5 separate regions of the Homo sapiens genome follow, and regions 1, 3, 4 and 5 are each linked to region 2. The links are contacts of gene promoters, found by promoter capture Hi-C in human tissues and cell types (Jung and others, 2019). All regions are on one chromosome and are shown on one strand. Each heading gives the region's core, a stretch centred on a gene start or on the middle of the fragment in contact. The rest is flanking DNA. Distances are from core to core; before and after follow the strand shown.

The links. The method cuts DNA at HindIII sites, captures the fragments that hold promoters and counts their contacts. A contact is called where the count stands out against the background at its distance.
Region 1: the fragment with the promoter of MEIS3 here is called in contact with the fragment with the promoter of TPRX1 in region 2 in 2 of the 25 tissues and cell types used here (mesenchymal stem cells and spleen).
Region 3: a contact is called between the fragment with the promoter of SLC8A2 here and the fragment with the promoter of TPRX1 in region 2, in 4 of the 25 tissues and cell types used here (heart left ventricle, lymphoblastoid cells, small bowel and 1 more).
Region 4: a contact is called between a fragment that was not itself captured here and the fragment with the promoter of TPRX1 in region 2, in 1 of the 25 tissues and cell types used here (dorsolateral prefrontal cortex).
Region 5: a contact is called between a fragment that was not itself captured here and the fragment with the promoter of TPRX1 in region 2, in 1 of the 25 tissues and cell types used here (hippocampus).

What each region holds. Positions count from the first base shown.
Region 1 is chr19:47,417,513-47,420,910 of GRCh38, forward strand. MEIS3 (Meis homeobox 3) reads right to left here and starts at 2,015. Exons shown (of 13, transcript NM_001301059.2): 1 at 1,558-2,015. The coding sequence starts at 1,569. RefSeq lists enhancers at 109-1,101, 1,102-2,095. The HindIII fragment of the contact is 42,961 bases long and covers 1-3,398 here.
Region 2 is chr19:47,803,128-47,806,195 of GRCh38, forward strand. TPRX1 (tetrapeptide repeat homeobox 1) reads right to left here and starts at 1,424. Exons shown (of 3, transcript NM_001397346.1): 1 at 1,388-1,424; 2 at 377-546. The coding sequence starts at 1,412. The HindIII fragment of the contact is 58,136 bases long and covers 1-3,068 here.
Region 3 is chr19:47,470,612-47,473,644 of GRCh38, forward strand. SLC8A2 (solute carrier family 8 member A2) reads right to left here and starts at 1,282. Exons shown (of 10, transcript NM_015063.3): 1 at 1,178-1,282. The HindIII fragment of the contact is 16,110 bases long and covers 1-3,033 here.
Region 4 is chr19:48,203,704-48,206,716 of GRCh38, forward strand. LOC124904734 (a long non-coding RNA gene) reads left to right here and starts at 458. Exons shown (of 2, transcript XR_007067282.1): 1 at 458-519. It also overlaps a transcript of CARD8 not described here. RefSeq lists an enhancer at 387-556. The HindIII fragment of the contact is 4,690 bases long and covers 1-3,013 here.
Region 5 is chr19:47,501,492-47,504,672 of GRCh38, forward strand. NAPA (NSF attachment protein alpha) reads right to left here. Exons shown (of 11, transcript NM_003827.4): 2 at 1,932-2,011. NAPA-AS1 (NAPA antisense RNA 1) reads left to right here. Exons shown (of 4, transcript NR_038452.1): 4 at 1-106. Among named protein-coding and RNA genes, the nearest start is that of NAPA, 12 kb to the right of the region's middle. The HindIII fragment of the contact is 4,210 bases long and covers 1-3,181 here.

The sequences.
Region 1 (3,398 bases), core at 765-3,264, 390 kb before region 2:
CCAGGTCCCCTGGAGCTGCCTCGGTGGGGAGTGAGGACCCCGTCCAGGCAGAGATTCCTGACATGTGGGCAGGAGGACCCAGAGGGAGAGACGGCAGGGTCTGGCTGGGAGGGAAAAGAGATGGAGAAAGTGGCGTGAGAAGACAGTGACAGAGACAGAGAGAGAGACAGACAGAGAGGGAGATCCATGGACACCTCCTGTAGGAACCGCGCATTGTTGTACACAAAGTACACATACGAAGCCTCCCTGTCTTCTATTTCATTTCACAGTTGGCAGATAAGCGCATCAGAGTAAGTCTCAACAACATGTCACACTCCACTCGCCACGTGAATCTACCACACATGTAGACACAGCCATACACACCAACCCACGTGCACACTCATGTGTCAGTCACACCCAAATCCCCCCCCCCACACACACATGCACACACACATGCACACAGCCCAACACCAGGCACAAGAATGAATGCATGATTGAGACATTTGGCACATGGATGAATGAATGAATGAGGCATTTAGCACAGGGCCTGGCTCATGCTGTGAGCACTTGTTGCCGGAGAGGGTCACTCCGCACCACCATACAGACACGATTGCGCACCCAAGAGAAACACCATTATGGGGTAGGACGACCGCGTCCTGTCGTCACAGAACCATGCACCTGGGAAGCCAGGGGCACCTTCCTCTCATCAGGTCAAATCCCTTCCTCAGTGATGAAGACACGGAGGCTCAAAGAGGCAGCAGGACTCGCACGGGAAGAGGCTAGAACGTTCCTGCCTCGGACCCTCGCCTGGCTGGGCACCCTGGTTCTGTGTGTCCCACTCTTTCCCTCTCCCTCTTCTCCTAACTTCTCCTGTGCCCTGAAGTTGAATCCAACTGCTCCCCGCTGCTCAAGGCACTCTCACCAAAAGCGGTCCTCACAGCCTACCCGGAACCCCCAAAACGGGCGCGCGCCTCCTCCCCTGTCTTCTATCCCCGTTCCCATCCCCAGGGAGACAGGCTCCGTGGGGCCAGCAGCCTGGTGAGACCACCTCTCCCACCCCTGTCCCACTCCTAGCCCTGGAGAGGCAGGGGCGGCTTGGAACAAAAGTAGAGCGAAGGGAAGGACGGAGGAGAGCAGAAAAAAGGGGGGACGGTGAGGTGCGGGCGGCTGAGATGGAGGAGGAAGCCCAGGAACAGAGGAGAGAGACTGCGGGTGGGGGAGGGCAGAGAGAGGGGGATAGAGAGGCAGAAAGAGGGGGGAGACCAGGGACAGAGAGAGGGGGACAGAGAGGCAGAAAGGAGGAGGAGAGTGGGGCAGACAGAGGGGGACAGAGGGGCAGGGAGAAGGAGAAGCTAAACGATGGGGAGGAGGCGAGGCCGAGGGCCAGGAAGAGACACTTGGGGGCAGAGAGGGGGCACACAGGGACTGGGAGACCCAGGGGCGGAGGGAGGGGCAGAGAGAGAGCGAGGTGGTGTAGAGGACGGATGGGCTAATGGGGGCCAGCGCCGGAGAGTGGGGGATGCAGGGACAGGGGGTGCGGAAGCGGCCGGGACGCGGGGTCCCCGCCCCGAGACCTACCCTCCGGGCCATGGGCTGAGGCCGGCGGCAGCTCCTGGGTCCCTCCAGAGCCTGGCCGCGGGGGAGGGCGCAGCCCGGGGCCGCAGCCCCTGACGGCCCGCGGTGTTGACGCCAGGGGGTGGGCAGGAGGCCAGGCGCGCGCCCCCCCACCCCCGCCGCCGTCAGCGGCAGGCGCCGGGCCGGGTGGGGACTCCGCGCATGGACCCCGGCCCCCGCCCCCAGCGGGGGTCACGGCCAGGAGCGCATCGCCGCCGGGGCGGGGGCAGCAGGCGCAGGCGGGGCGCCCGAGGCCCCCTCCTCTGGGCCCCCCCCGTCCCTTCCCCGGCTCTGGAGGGAATCGAACCGTCCCGAGACGGACACACCGGGGACCGCAGGGGGCGGGGGGCGGCCCGGGGCGACGGAGGGTCCGGCGGCGGCTCAGGGGTGCTGGCAGCCGCGCTCCCCGTTCCCGGTCTCTCCCTTGTCTTGTGGAAATTAAACAGAACCACCAAGGAGCGGGATAGGGGATGAGCCAGAGTGAGCCTGCAGAGCTACAGCACGAGGGATTGGGGTTAGGGCAGCAGCAGCACTTCCGGTGGGAGTCGGGGAGGGGCAGGCTGTGGGGGGAGGAGAGGAAGAGACCGCGGCCCTGGTGCCCCCAGGCCCCTCCTCTCCTACCCAGGGCTGGGGTTCCTGCTCCGGGTTTCTCAGTCTCCCTCTTTCCCAGTCTCTCTCTCCTTGTCTCTCTCTGTCTCCGCTTCTCCCGTCCTTTCTCTCCTCTGGCTCTCTGTTCTCCGAGCCCCCTGGACACACCACGGACCCCCTCCCTGGCCATCTCCAGGGGTCACGTGGGAATCTGGAGTCTGGTCCCACCGTAGGCTCTCCCCTCTCTGAGGCTCGATTCCCCCTCTGCAGGATGGGCAGTGCGCTGGGGGCGGCGGGGGTGGGCTGTGGATAACGGAGAAACAGTTAAGCTAGAGGGTGCCAGGACTCAGGGTCTTGGCTGAGTCTGGGGGTCCCCATGCCGGCGGGCTCTGCCCCCGTGGCTGTCCTGCGGTGAGGCTGGCCGTTTAAGGCAGTCCGAGGGGAAGGGTCTGGAGGCCTTGCCTTTCCTCAAGGCCGGCGCACCCCAGATAGGGGTTTTGGAGCAGAAAATTAATTTAAATCACTTTTTAATTAAAGACACAAGGCCCTTTGGTCTGCTCCACCCCCACCTCACCCTCAGCCAAGACTTGGGGTGAGGGATGCAAGGGTTAGGAGTCTCTGGCTCTATTTGCTTTTTTGGGGGGTGGTGCATGCTAAGGTCCCCTTAGCCCAGGCTGATTCTGAAACCTAGAGGAGCAAGTGCGGCCTCATCTGACGGCCAGTGGTGGGGGGCGTGGACAGAGCAGGAAGGGAGGGAGGGGGCACCTGGGATGGGGATGGGGCCTAACTGGAGTGGGGAGGGAGGTAACTCCAGTGACGGTGTGATTCAGAGAGAGAGAGAGACAGAGACAGACGCGGGTGGGAGGAGAGAGAGAGAGAGGTGCAGACAGAGTGAGACAGACAGGAGGGGGAGGGAGTGGGGGACAGGAGCTCCAATAGAGACCCTGGAGTCGTCCCTGCCACCCCCAAAACAAGAGCAGGGGGCTTGGACTCTGAAGCATAAATCTTTCTAATTAAAGAAAGAGACGAGCTGTTGGGAAGGGAGAAATAAGTGTGTGGGAGAGAAATTGATTGGGGGAGGATGGAGGATGCCGGCGGGGGACGGAGGGAGCAGGGGGGAGGCTCCGGCTTTCTGAGGCTCTTCCTCCAGTCTTTCCCTCTGTCTGTCCATCCGTCTGTCTGTCCGTCTCTGTCTCTCGCTCTCTCTCTCTCTCTCT
Region 2 (3,068 bases), core at 174-2,673:
AGGCCTGGAGAATGGAGGGAAGAGGGAGGGAAAAGTAGGGGGAGGAGGGTGGGGTGGGATGGGAGGAGCGGGGTCTGCCGCCCAGGTGCCCGGGGGGCCAGGGAGGGTTCGAGGGGAGGGACCGCGGGTTCTCACGGGTGCCTGAGGTCCGGGCACCGGGAGACCCCGTGGGGGACAGCCTGGGCCGATCATGTGGGCGAGTTTGGGCTAGCATAGAGTTGGAACAGGACTCAGGATGCAGCCCTGGTCTACACTGGCGGGACCCCTTGCGTGGCAGGGCGGGAGGTGGTCGGGCGGGCCAGGCCCCGGTGAGTGACAGCGGTGGGGAGGCTCCTTGGGGTGACTGGGGCGGGCAGGGTGGGGGTGGGGGTCAGACCTGCAGCTGTTGCTCCCTGAGGCTGAGCATCTCCGCCAGATTCAGTCGCTGGTCGTAGTTCGGGTACTGGTCCTTCTGAAAGTAAAATTCTAGCACTTTCTGCTGGCTTTCAGTGTAGACCGTGCGCTCCTGCCGCTGTCTCCTTGGAGGGTCCAGGGCCAGGGGAGGGCCTGGGGGTGGGAGGGAAACAGGTCACAGAAACCCCCAGGCAGCCCCCAGCCCCCCTAGGGACCCCGTCCCCTGCACCAGGCCAGGAGCCCAGGCAGTGTGGGCTGGGGCGGCACCGCGGATAGCAGCCTGGTATCCAGACCAGACCTTGCACCTCTCTGGGCCTCAGGGTCCACATCTAGGAAATAGGCGCGATAACAGCTCCTGGGAAGGCAGGCAGCGTAGGCGCCTCACCTCGGAGCAGACGGGGCTGCCTCAGGCCTGCTCAACCCTCCCCAGCTGCCCCGTCCCCTCCCATCCAAGGGTTATAGGGACCCTGACACTTGCAGGGGAGCCGCCACCTGCCCAGTCCTCTGCTCCACTCAACTGCATGGTTTAATTTCTTTCCTTCTTTCTTTTTCTTGGAGGGGATCTCGCTCTGTCACCCAGGCTGGAGTGCAGTGATGTGATCACGGCTCAAGTCAGCCTCCACTTCCTGGGCTCAAGGAACCCCCCGCCTTAGTCTCCCGAGTAGCTGGGACCACAGGTGTGCACCACGACCCCTGGGTAATTTTTGTATTTTTGCTAAAGACGGGTCTCCACTATGTTGGCTCGGCTGGTTTCAGAGTCCCGGGCTCAAGTGATCCTCCCACCTTGGCTTCCCAAAGAGCTGGGATCACAGGCGTGAGACGCTACACCCAGCTGCATGATTTTTCATTTCCCAGACACCACTAAGTTCTCCCCCGTCTGCAGGACAGGAAGCCGCCCGCACAGGCCCAGCCCTTCTCTGGCTGCCCAGATTTGCACTCTGCAGCCTCAGCCACAGGATCAGCCCAGACCCCTCACACCTCTGTCCCCGCTCACCTTGGAGATGACCAGGGTCTTGCATCCTGAGTCCTGATCTGTTCCCAAACACAAGTGTGTACTGACAAGGGCTTGGCTCTTAAATCACTTCTCTGCTGTGCCCACCCTGGCCCACCCTGCCGGGACCCTCCCTTTCCCACCCTGCCCTGCAGTCCCGCCCCCTGGAGGAGTTGAATGATGGATTAATCCTTCATCACTGATCAGGTACTGCCTGCTGAGCTGTGCTAGGAGCTGGAGAACCTCAGTGGACAACACAGCCTTGGTTTCACCCTCATGGGCCCTAGCCCAGGTGAGGTGGCATTCCATGCGGGTTTGGTTGGGGGAGTCAACATCGTGACCTGTGGTTGGGGTCCCCATCTCAGGAGAGGCACCGCCAGCCAGCCCCCAGGAGTCATCCTTGTTCCTTCCCAGGGCTGGGGCCCCGAGTGACCAATGCCGGTGAGTCTACCCACTCCTCCTGGCTCCTGGGCTGCCTGCCTTGTCCAGCCACTATCCCTCCTTCCTGGATGACCTTGCAACCTCCTCTTTGGTACCTCAAGGCCACTCTGGCCCCTACTATCCATTCCAAAAATTGCTCCCTAGGTGCCTATAGGTGTAAGCAGAGCTTAGTACACATTGGCCCTGCTGATAATGGTTTGGTTTCTGTAGTGGATTTGCCTATGGGGTGAAGTTCTGATAGGCATTCACATAGACCTCTGTTGGTTTCTCCTGGAGAGTAAATGACCTCAGTGCTGGTTTATTCCAGTTTATATACGGGGCTCGTGTGCTGGGTTCACATGAGCCCAGCCTCTCCAAGCTGCATAGACCTGTATCAGGAGGGGGCACAGGTCTGATGGACGTGCCCATGGACCGCTGCTGGTCTGCCCTTGTGAGTGAATGAACCTACTGCTGATGATACAGGGGACCCATGACCTTGGTCTACAGAGATCGGATCCCTCAGAGATGCGTCTTCTCTGTCAGACACCTGGCTGTCCTCATTTCCCCATGGCAGGACCCACGTGGGTTCAGGGATTAGAGAGATTGACAAGGCTCATGGTGCAGGGAACTAGAAATGACTCATGCAATCAATTTCAAAATTCAATAAAACGTAGACATTGTTACCACGGGCCTCGCTCATTGTTTTCACCTGCTACTTAGAGTTCTGCTGTAGAAAGCAGCATCCCCAGCAATGATTCCTCATCGCACACATTGTCCGGCTTCATCTACAGGACATGCTGGGAACACAGTAGTGACCACAGAGATTTTGCACCATGGCTATTTATTTGGTCAATAAAGACATAAACAGATGAACAAGCTCACTGGTACTATTTTGTGAAAATAGACATTTAAATATAAGCAAGTTCACGGCAGCATGATTCACTATCGCCCAAAAGGAGAAAATGCTGAAAACATCGATCCACTGATGCATGGATAAATAAAATGCTGCATGGCCAGGCGCGGTGGCTCACGCCTGTAATCCCAGCACTTTGGGAGGCTGAGGCAGGCAGATCACCTGAGGTCAGGAGTTTAAGACCAGCCTGGCCAACATGGCGAAACCCTGTCTACTAAAAATACAAAAATTAGCTGGGCGTGGTGGCCAGCACCTGAATTTCAGCTACTTGGGAGGCTGAGGCGGGGGAATTGGTTGAACCCGGGAGGCGGAGGCTACAGGGAGTGGAGATTGTGCCACTGTACTCCAGCC
Region 3 (3,033 bases), core at 32-2,531, 330 kb before region 2:
CAGGAAAGGCGCTCAGTAATTATCAACAAGAATGAATGAATCAAGAGCTGGACAAACAGCAAGAGGTATGGAAGTGAGACGGCAGGAAGGACTGGTCCAGTTACACGAGGAAGACTGGGGAGGTTAGATTGAAGGGAGGTCTGGTCTCATCTCTACTACAGAGGCTACCGGTTAAACTGCAAGAAGGACCGGCCTCAGAACGCCAGAAACAAGGCAGGGGGAGGTGGGCTCGGTCCTCAGGGGAGAGCTGGGGTGGGTGCCGGCTGGGAGGAGTGGAGAGAGCAGGGGAGCTCTGCTGAAGTGGGGAGAGGAGTTTAGAGGACTCCAGGCCTGGGGGAGCCCACTCTGCGGGTGGGGGGGTCTAATTCCTCCAGGTCCCCCCTGCCAGGGGCGGAGACAAAGGTGTGTGGGAGGAGGGTGCACTGGCTCCCAGGGAGAGCCAGAGAAGAGGAAAGAGAGAGAGAAACAGAGACTGAGATATCCAGAGACAGAGATGGAGACGAGGGGGAGATGGGGAGGGAGGGAGAGAGAGAGAGAGAGAGAGAGACATGCGGACATGGGAAGAGACAGAGACACAGAGAAAGCAGAGACAGAGAGAGACACAGGAAAGCTGAGACAAGGGAGAGAGGCAGAGACACAGAGACACAGAGAAACAGAGATGGCGCAAGAGGAAAGGAGAGAGAAACCCAGGACTTAGAGACAGAGCCCCAGAGAGACTCCGAACAGACCCCGGCACAGAGACACAGAGAGAGGGAGACAGGAGTGAGAGACTGAGAGACAGGGACTCCCAGAGGCGGCCAGACTCTGCTAGACAGAGACCCCTGAGACATGTGGAGAGACAGAAAGATGAGACCCAGACACAGGAAGGCGGGGGCAGAGGTAGAGAGCGCGAGGGGGGGTGCCCCAGACGGGGTGGGGGCGGGGTGTCCTCGCCCCCCAGTACCCAGGCGGTCCCCCTCCCCAGCCGCCCGAGAACCAGGAGGGACTGAAGGTGTTGGGGCGGCTGGTGGCACTCCCACCCCACAGAAGGTACGCGTGCTGGGCCAGGCAGCCCCCCACCTCCATAAACCAGCCCAGGGAAGCCAGCTCCAGGCTTCCCGAACCGCCCCCACTCCGCACCTGGGGTAACCCCGTCCTTTTCCCACGCCCCCACCTCCCCACCAATGGGGTCTCTTACCTGCGGCTACAGCCTGGAGCAGGTCCCCCCAGCGCTGGGCTGGCAGTGGTGGGCGACTCCGCCCGAAAGAGAGAGAGAGATTGAGAGAGAGAAAAGCCTGAGACTGAGAGGGAGAGCCGGGGAGGAGGGGAGGGAGAGGGGATAGAGGGAGGAGAAGAGGAGAGGGGAGGGACACGGGGGAGGGGGAGGCGGCGAGGGAGCGAGGGAGGGGGAGGAGCCGGAGAGAGGGGGAGGAGGCGGAGGCGGGCAGAGGGAAGGCGGTGCGGGAGGCGGGGGGAGGCCCGGGGAGGGGCCTGGGGGAGCAGGGAGCCCGAGCCTCCTCCCCAGCCTCCGGGTTCAGCACCAGAGGCAGGGGACAGCACCGGAGGGCGCTCCTGTGTGTTTCAGAAGCAGCCCCCGCCCCCCAACACACACACACACACACGCACACACACACACGCACGCAGTCTCCCAGCCATACAAGGGCCAACAGCTACAAATAGTTACAGACTTACAGAACTAGGGGGAGGGCAAGAATGTTTAGCTGGAGTCAGATCCAAATTCACATACTGTGCCTGCACAGCCTCACAAAGGAGGCCAGAAACAACCACAAAGACACCCATTAATAAGAATAACAACAGCTGCCATACATACAGGCAGCCCTGACCACGTGCCTGGCATCGGCAGCACATTATTATTATTTGAGACAGGGTCTCACTCTGTCACCCAGGCTGGAGTGCAGTGGCACGATCTTGGCTTACTGCAGCCTCAACCTCCTGGGCTCAAGCAATCCTCCTGCCTCAGCCTCCTGAGTAGCTGGGACTACAGGTGCCCGCCACCACCACGCCAGGCTTTTTCCCTCCATTTTTTTTTTTTAGGAGATGGGATCTCACCATGTTACCCAGGCTGGTCTCCAACTCCTGGGCTCAAGCGATCCTTCTGCCTTGGCCTCCCGAGTAGCTGGGACTACAGGTGCCCACCACCACCACGCCAGGCTTTTTTTCTCTTCATTTTTTTTAAGAGACGGGGTCTCACTATTTTACCTAGGCTAGTCTCCAACTCCCGGGCTTAAGCAATCCTTCTGCCTCGGCCTCCCAAAGCGCTGAGATTACAGGTGAGAGCCACCGCACAGGTGAGAGCCACCGCACCTGGCATGTTCTAATGTTTTTTATAAATTTAGGTAAATGCTATTATGAGCTTCACTTACAGACAGGGAAACCAAGGCATGAGGTGGTAAATATGGCTCCAGATTCTACACCCTTAACTGCTGCACCGCACAATTCCCCAGGCTGAGGACGGGTCAGGTCAAGAAGAGACTTGCAGGCTGGGTGCGGTGGCTCACGCCTGTAATCCCAGCACTTTAGGAGGCTGAGGCGAGCAGATCACTTGACGTCAGGAGTTGGAGACCAGCCTGGCCAACATGGCGAAACCCTGTCTCTTCTAAAAATACAAAAATTAGCCAGGCCAGGTGGCACACGCCTGTAATCCCAGCTACTTGGGAGGCTGAGGCAGGAGAAATCGCTTGAACCTGGGAGGTGGAGGCTGCAGTGAGCTGAGATCATGCCACCGCACTCTAGCCTGGGTGACAGAGTGAGACTCCATCTCCAAAAAAAAAAAAAAAAAAGAAAGAAATGAACTGCAAAGGGCCAGGCAGGTGGCCTGGGCTCCTGAAGACACAAACTCATGCACCCTGCGATGGGCCCACACACATACCCCCACGCAAGCACACACCTCTGCAAGGCACACCAGCACTACACCCACCCCCAATCCTGCTCCCCCCCACAACAGGGGGTGATGGCGTGTTAGTCGGTGTGGAGTGCTCCTTCTCTAGAGGCGGACAGTGGGAGGGAGGGGGCCTTGCTCGTGCCACCGGTCCT
Region 4 (3,013 bases), core at 193-2,692, 400 kb after region 2:
AAGCTTTGAGTTAAAAAAAAAGATGAAAGAATGAAAATGGCAGACTGCCTAGCAGAACTAGCCCTTCCCGATGTTTCATTGTTGCTATAGTGACGATCCAGTCTGCACGAAGATCCCAGCTTCCTTAACCTTGTTCCTACCTCCAGCCAGCTCACCCATTGGCCACCTGTATCTCCTGCTGTAGCAGCCAGAAAGCTACAACTCCCAGCCGGCTGAGCGCCACCAGCGCTTTCGCGTCCAAGTCCCTTTGCTGAGTGTGAGGGCCTGCGCAGTAGAACCCGCGGGCCCAGAGCTCCATCTGAGCATGTGCAGGCTGCGGGGTGTTTCCTTCGTCTGCTGGCGGGAGAGGAGTGGGGAGGAGCTCTTTACCCGCTGAGCATTGTGGGGCCCGCTTGGATCTCCTTGTCCAAAGGGTCTGGGCGCCGGGGCTGCAGTCTCTGGGTGAGGAGGCGGACGCGGGAAACCTGCTTCGGTCTCCATGGTTACGAGCCGCTCAGCGCGCAGGAGGGGGATTCAAAGGTTGGCGTTGCCACAGTAACCCTGGAGTGGAAGGAGACGGGGATTAGAGACCTCGCGGGAGAAATTAGACTAACAGCCTGGGAACTGGAGGGATGGAGGGTGTGCCGGAGGAATCAGTCTGCAGTAAGGGGAGTTGGGGTGATATTAGGGGAAATGGGATGTTTTCAAGGACAGGGAGTGTTTTGGTGAATTCCTATGTAATAAGGAGATTTGGGGAGATCATTGAAATCGACAAGTTACTAGATACTTGGGATGCTCAAGGGGAAGTGGAAACGCAGTAGGATCCGCCCGCCTCAGCCTCCCAAAGCAGTAGGGAAAATTGGGGTATTAAGCTCTTTTGCCATTCTGCAGTTATTATAGAGCTCCTGCTGGAAGCCAGGCACAGTTGACAGTACTGGTAAACAGGACAGATGTGACTATAGACGGAATTGGGGTTTCATGGAGAAGGGGAGGTATAAGAAAAGGGGACTGTTGTCCTCTATGGGAGGGACTGGGAGGCGATTGGGAAGAACTGGCGCTGTAAAGAGAAGCTGGAAGTTTTATAAGGGAATTGAGGTATTATATAAGTTAATTCTGTTGTTATTTATAGAAGGCCAACTCAGTAGCAGCCTCTAGGAAGCACTGAGGATTCCTCAGTATGCAAAGGCATTTAGTGATAGAGTTACCAGATTTAGGGGGAAAGCAATGGCCAGTTAAATTCTAATTTCGGAAAATGCATAATATTGTAGTTACTCTCTGTTGTTTATCTGAAATTCAAATTTAGCTGGGCATCCTGTATTTTATTTGGCAGCTCTCATTATGGTTAATTTAAGTGTTTGTGAAGAGTGGGTTATTATAGGGGAAACAGGTATTATAGAGTAATTGGGTTGTAGGAGGAGCTGGGGATAGTCAGGAAAAGTCGGAGTGTTGAAGCTAACGCCAAGATCAGCACTGACTGTGTGCCAGAGACTATGCTAAGTACTCTTATTTTTAAAAACGTTTTATTATGGAAAGTTTCGGCCATATACAATTGTTTGCTTGTTTTTGAGATGGAGTCTTACGCTGTCGCCCAGGCTGGAGTGCAGTGGCATGATCTCTGCTCATTTCAACCTCTGCTTCCCGGGTTCAAGCGATTCTCCTGCCTCAGCCTCCCGAGTAGCTGGGATTACAGGTGCGCACCACCACGCCCGGCTAATTTTTGTAATTTTAGTAGAGAAGGGGTTTCACCATGTTGGCCAGGCTGGTCTTGAACTCCTGACCTCAAGAGATTCACCCACCTCAGTCTCCCAAAGTGCTGGGATTATAGGCGTGAGCCACTGCGCCTGGCCCATATACAATTGTTAAACAGATAATATATAATAAAGCTACTTGTACCCATCTCTGCTTTACATGAGTGCTGTTGAGGCATCCCAACATTCCTATGAGGTAGCGTTACTGTCACACCCCCATTTTACAGATGAGGAAACTGCACCACAGAGAGGTTAAATAACTTGGCCAGAGGTGTTAGAACCAGAATTTGGACCCACACAATCGGGCCCCAGAGTCTGGGCTCTCAGCTGCCATATCACATGTAACCTCCGTCTGGGAAATGTGAGTAGGGAGTGAGGCATGATGGGAGCAACAAGAGAGTAGTAGTAAGGTATAAAAGGAAAGGTAGGGAATTGGGCCGTTTGAGCATTGTGCAGTTGTTATAGGATTTTTATTTTTATTTTTTGAGACAGAGTCTCACTCTGTCACCCAGGCTGGAGTGCAGTGGTGCAATTTTGGCTCACTGCAACCTCCACCTTCTGAGTTCAAGCAATTCTCCTGCCTCAGCCTCCCAAGTAGCTGGGATTACGGGTGTGCGCCACCATGCCTGGCTAATTTTTGTATTTTCAGTAGAGACGAGGTTTCACCACGTTGGCCAGGCTGGTCTCGAACTCCTAACCTCAAGTGATCCACCCGCCTCAGCCTCCCAGAGTGCTGGGATTACAGCCGTGAGCCATCGCCCCCAGCCAGTTGTTCTAGGATTTTTATAAGATGTTTTGGGAGACTGGGGGAGTTACAGAAGAGTTTGGTGTTTTGAAACATTATGGGAAGTTGTATAGTTGCATTTCAATAGAACAGTAGCAGCTAGCCACATGTGGGTGCATTACATTAATTATAATGAAATAAAACTCAGCACATTTCAGGAAGCGCCTACCGTATTGGATAGTGAAGATCTAGAGCAGTCCCAATGAGTCTGGATAACAGGGATTTAGGGTAACCAAGGGTTAAGGCACAAGCAGGTGCAGCCAGTTCTAGGCAAGATTGGGCAGCATCCAGGCCACATCCTCACTCCTGTGATAACAAGACAGAAGTCTCCACTTCAGCCTCTTGATTGGTCACGGGCCAATCCTTCATAGGGTGTAACCAACTGGAGGCCTCTAAAGGGCACCTAGGGGTGTTACCAAATTCTTTTAGCTTAATGAAAACTCTAAAGAGCACTGCAGTCAGGGGCTCTTGAGCTACTTGCTCAAGCCCACTCCGACTCTGG
Region 5 (3,181 bases), core at 278-2,777, 300 kb before region 2:
GCTCATGGAGTTGGGGTCGGACAACACAGAGCCGGCTCCCTCCAGGAGCTGCATGTCCAGAGAGGGAAACAGGATGTGGACAGCAAGAATGAATACATGCAGACCAGTGCCCATGGGCGGAGGGCAGAAGAGACCGTGCCTGAAGCCTCATCCATCCTGTGCTCATCTGCACACGGTCAGCTTCTGTGGGTCCCAAGCCATTCTGCCCACACATCTCCTAACTGACGTTTGGGAGGCAGCAGCATCTCTCCTCCTCCTCGTGCAGCTGACCACCTCCAGCTCAGCTCTGAGGCTTCTCCCCTTCATTCTCCTCCAGCTGAATCTGAGTCAGAGTTTCTAAGCTGGAAGAGGACCAGGAGGCCTGGCCCTATCCTCTTAAGTTTTGAGCAGCAGAAAAGACAAAGCCTTCCGGGTTTTCACTATATGATTTCATTATTTTCAAGAGTTCCAAATTTGAGTATAAAATTACGGCCAGGCGCGGTGGCTCATGCCTGTAATCCCAGCACTTTGGGAGGCCGAGGTGGGCGGATCACGAGATCAGGAGATGGAGACCATCCTGGACAACATGGTAAAACTCTGTCTCTACTAAAAATACAAAAATAAGCTGGGCGTAGTGGCACGTGCCTGTAATCCCAGCTAGTCAAGAGGCTGAGGCAGGAGAATCACTTGAACCAGGGAGGCGGAGGTTGCAGTGAGCCAAGATCGCGCCACTGCACTCCAGCCTGGCAACAGAGCAAGACTGTCTCAAAAAAAAAAAAAAAAAAAAAAAAAAAAAAATTTCAAGAAAAGGGGATATTACCGGGGGGAAATGGCCTAGGGCTTTTCTTTGAAGAGTTTGGGGGCAGAGGTAACAAATTTTAGGGGAAAAGCAACACCTATGTAATTAAAAAATAAGCTTTTTTTCTCTAGAGGAATTTTCTAAGTTTGGGAGCATAAAAATACAAAAAACATTTGGCTTTATTCACAACGTATTTTGTGAAAACTCAGGAATAACTCTTTGAATTTTGGGGAAACCAACAACATTCTCAAAAACGATGATAATCAATTTTATTGTGCACCTCTGCACCCTGCCTCCATGGTCCCACCACCAGGTTCCCTCTCCTCCACAGTCAGAAGTTCCTCCCTGCATTCAAACACTGGGTCTCTTGCCGTATTTCCTTAATTCAATCTTGGTGACATGAAAGATGTATGATGAAATGAGCCTCGAAAGGGCTCAACACACTGGCTTGTTGGACTTCTTGGGCCTGCAGGGAGCTCCAAACAGATCTCCAGCCTCCCTGAGCCCAAGGGGCTCCTCCCCACCCCTCTCCTCTGTGAAGCTATCCTGCCTCACTGGGGCAGGTTAAACACTCAGGCTCTGCAGTCAGAGCCTTGGTTTCTGAATCTTGGTTCTGTCACTTACTAGTTCTGGCATCCTGGGCAAGAGACTAAGCCAAGCCTCAGTTTCCAAATCTGTAAAATAGGGATATTTATAGACTGACCCTTAGGGCTGCTGTGCTAACGCAATTAAATGATGAGCACTTAGGACTCAACAAACAGCAGCCATGATTCACGTTGTTATTGGAATCACCTGAACATCCTCCCCCAGCCTAGAATTTAGACACTGATGGAAGCACTAAGGAAGTTACCAGGAAACCTGAAGTTCTGAATTTAAGGAGGACTCTAAGAGCTCATCAATCCACATGGGTTTATCTAGGTCTAATAATCTATTTATTCCCATCCTCTCTGTCCTTTCACCAAGGCCCCATGACCCAGAGTATAAAGTAACCCAGCAGGCACAAAACAAGAGAGCAGGCCAGTGGCTTTCCGATGCCGGAGAGGGCATACAAAGAGAAAGGGCCCTCAAGGCCAACCTCTCGGGCAGGCCTGTGTGAGTGGAAGCTGAGGGAGGAGGAGAGCACCTTGGAGGAGCTCTAGCGGAGATGACATACCACTCCAGTTTTTGGCCATTTTGAACATGTTTGCTGCTCTGGCGTAGATTTCGCATGCTTCCTCTATTTTGGATGAGCCTCTGGGGAAAAAGGAAAGAAAAAAAGGAGACAATCTAGTCGGCTATCCAGGAGAAAGCAAGCATTCTGCTCCAGTGCCGGGCACAGACGTGCCCCTACCCCTCACCCTTCACCTGTGAAGCCAGCTTCCCCCAGGCCTCTTGAGTCTGTGGCCCCCGCCCCTGCATACAATGGCACACTCACTTCGGGCAGACCAGCTCCCTCCGGGAGTACTGGGGTAGATACTGGGTGCTTGCTGGGGTAGTGGGGCGAAGAGTTCCTGACCCCACCACAACCCCAGGGTCTGACAGCCTCTTCTACTTCCTGCCTGGGATACTAGGGGCCCACTGGGTCCCAGGCGCGCTACAAATCCCCTTTCCCCGGGAGACTGCAAAGCATTCTGGGGGACTAGCCCAGTTTAAGACATCGTGTTGCTTTCGCAGAGGCAGCCTTAATCCTGTGCCTTGCACTCTGTGGTTGCTCAATAAAGACCTTGCAGCCCTGGAGTGTGTCATTACCAGCTCAGGACTGGGCATATATATCACACAGCCATACAAAGAAATGGGAAGCACTATTTTAAAGTGTAGATATAAGATGTTCCCATTTGTGTTTAAAAAAAAAAGAGGGTGGGCTGGGTGTGGTGGTTCATGGCTCCTGTAATCCCAACACTTTGGGAGGCCAAGGTTGGCGGATTGCTTGAGCTCAAGAGTTCGAGACCAGCCTGGGCCACACGGCAAAACCCCAACTCTACAAAAAATACAAAAAATTAGCAGGGTGTGATGGTGCACGCCTGTAGTCCTAGCTACTAGAGAGGCTGATGTGGGAGGATCACTTGAGCCTGGGAGGCAGAGGTTGCAGTAAGCCAAGATCACACCATTGAACTCCAGCCTGGACGACGACAGAGCCAGACCTTGTCTCAAAAAAAAAAAAAAAAAAAAAAAGAGAAAGAGAGTGAAAATAATAGAAACATACATGTTTATATAAACATAGGATATTTCTGGGCAAATACACAAAAACCTAGTAACAGCATTTTTCTCTTAAGGTGAAGCCTGCAGAAGGAGGGCCAGGTGTGGGAGGCAGACTTATTCACTGGACATCCCGTATTTGTACTGTCTGAATTTTTTTTTAACTGTTTGTACATCTTTTCGAGAAAAAAAATATATACATATATACACACACGTGTACATATATAC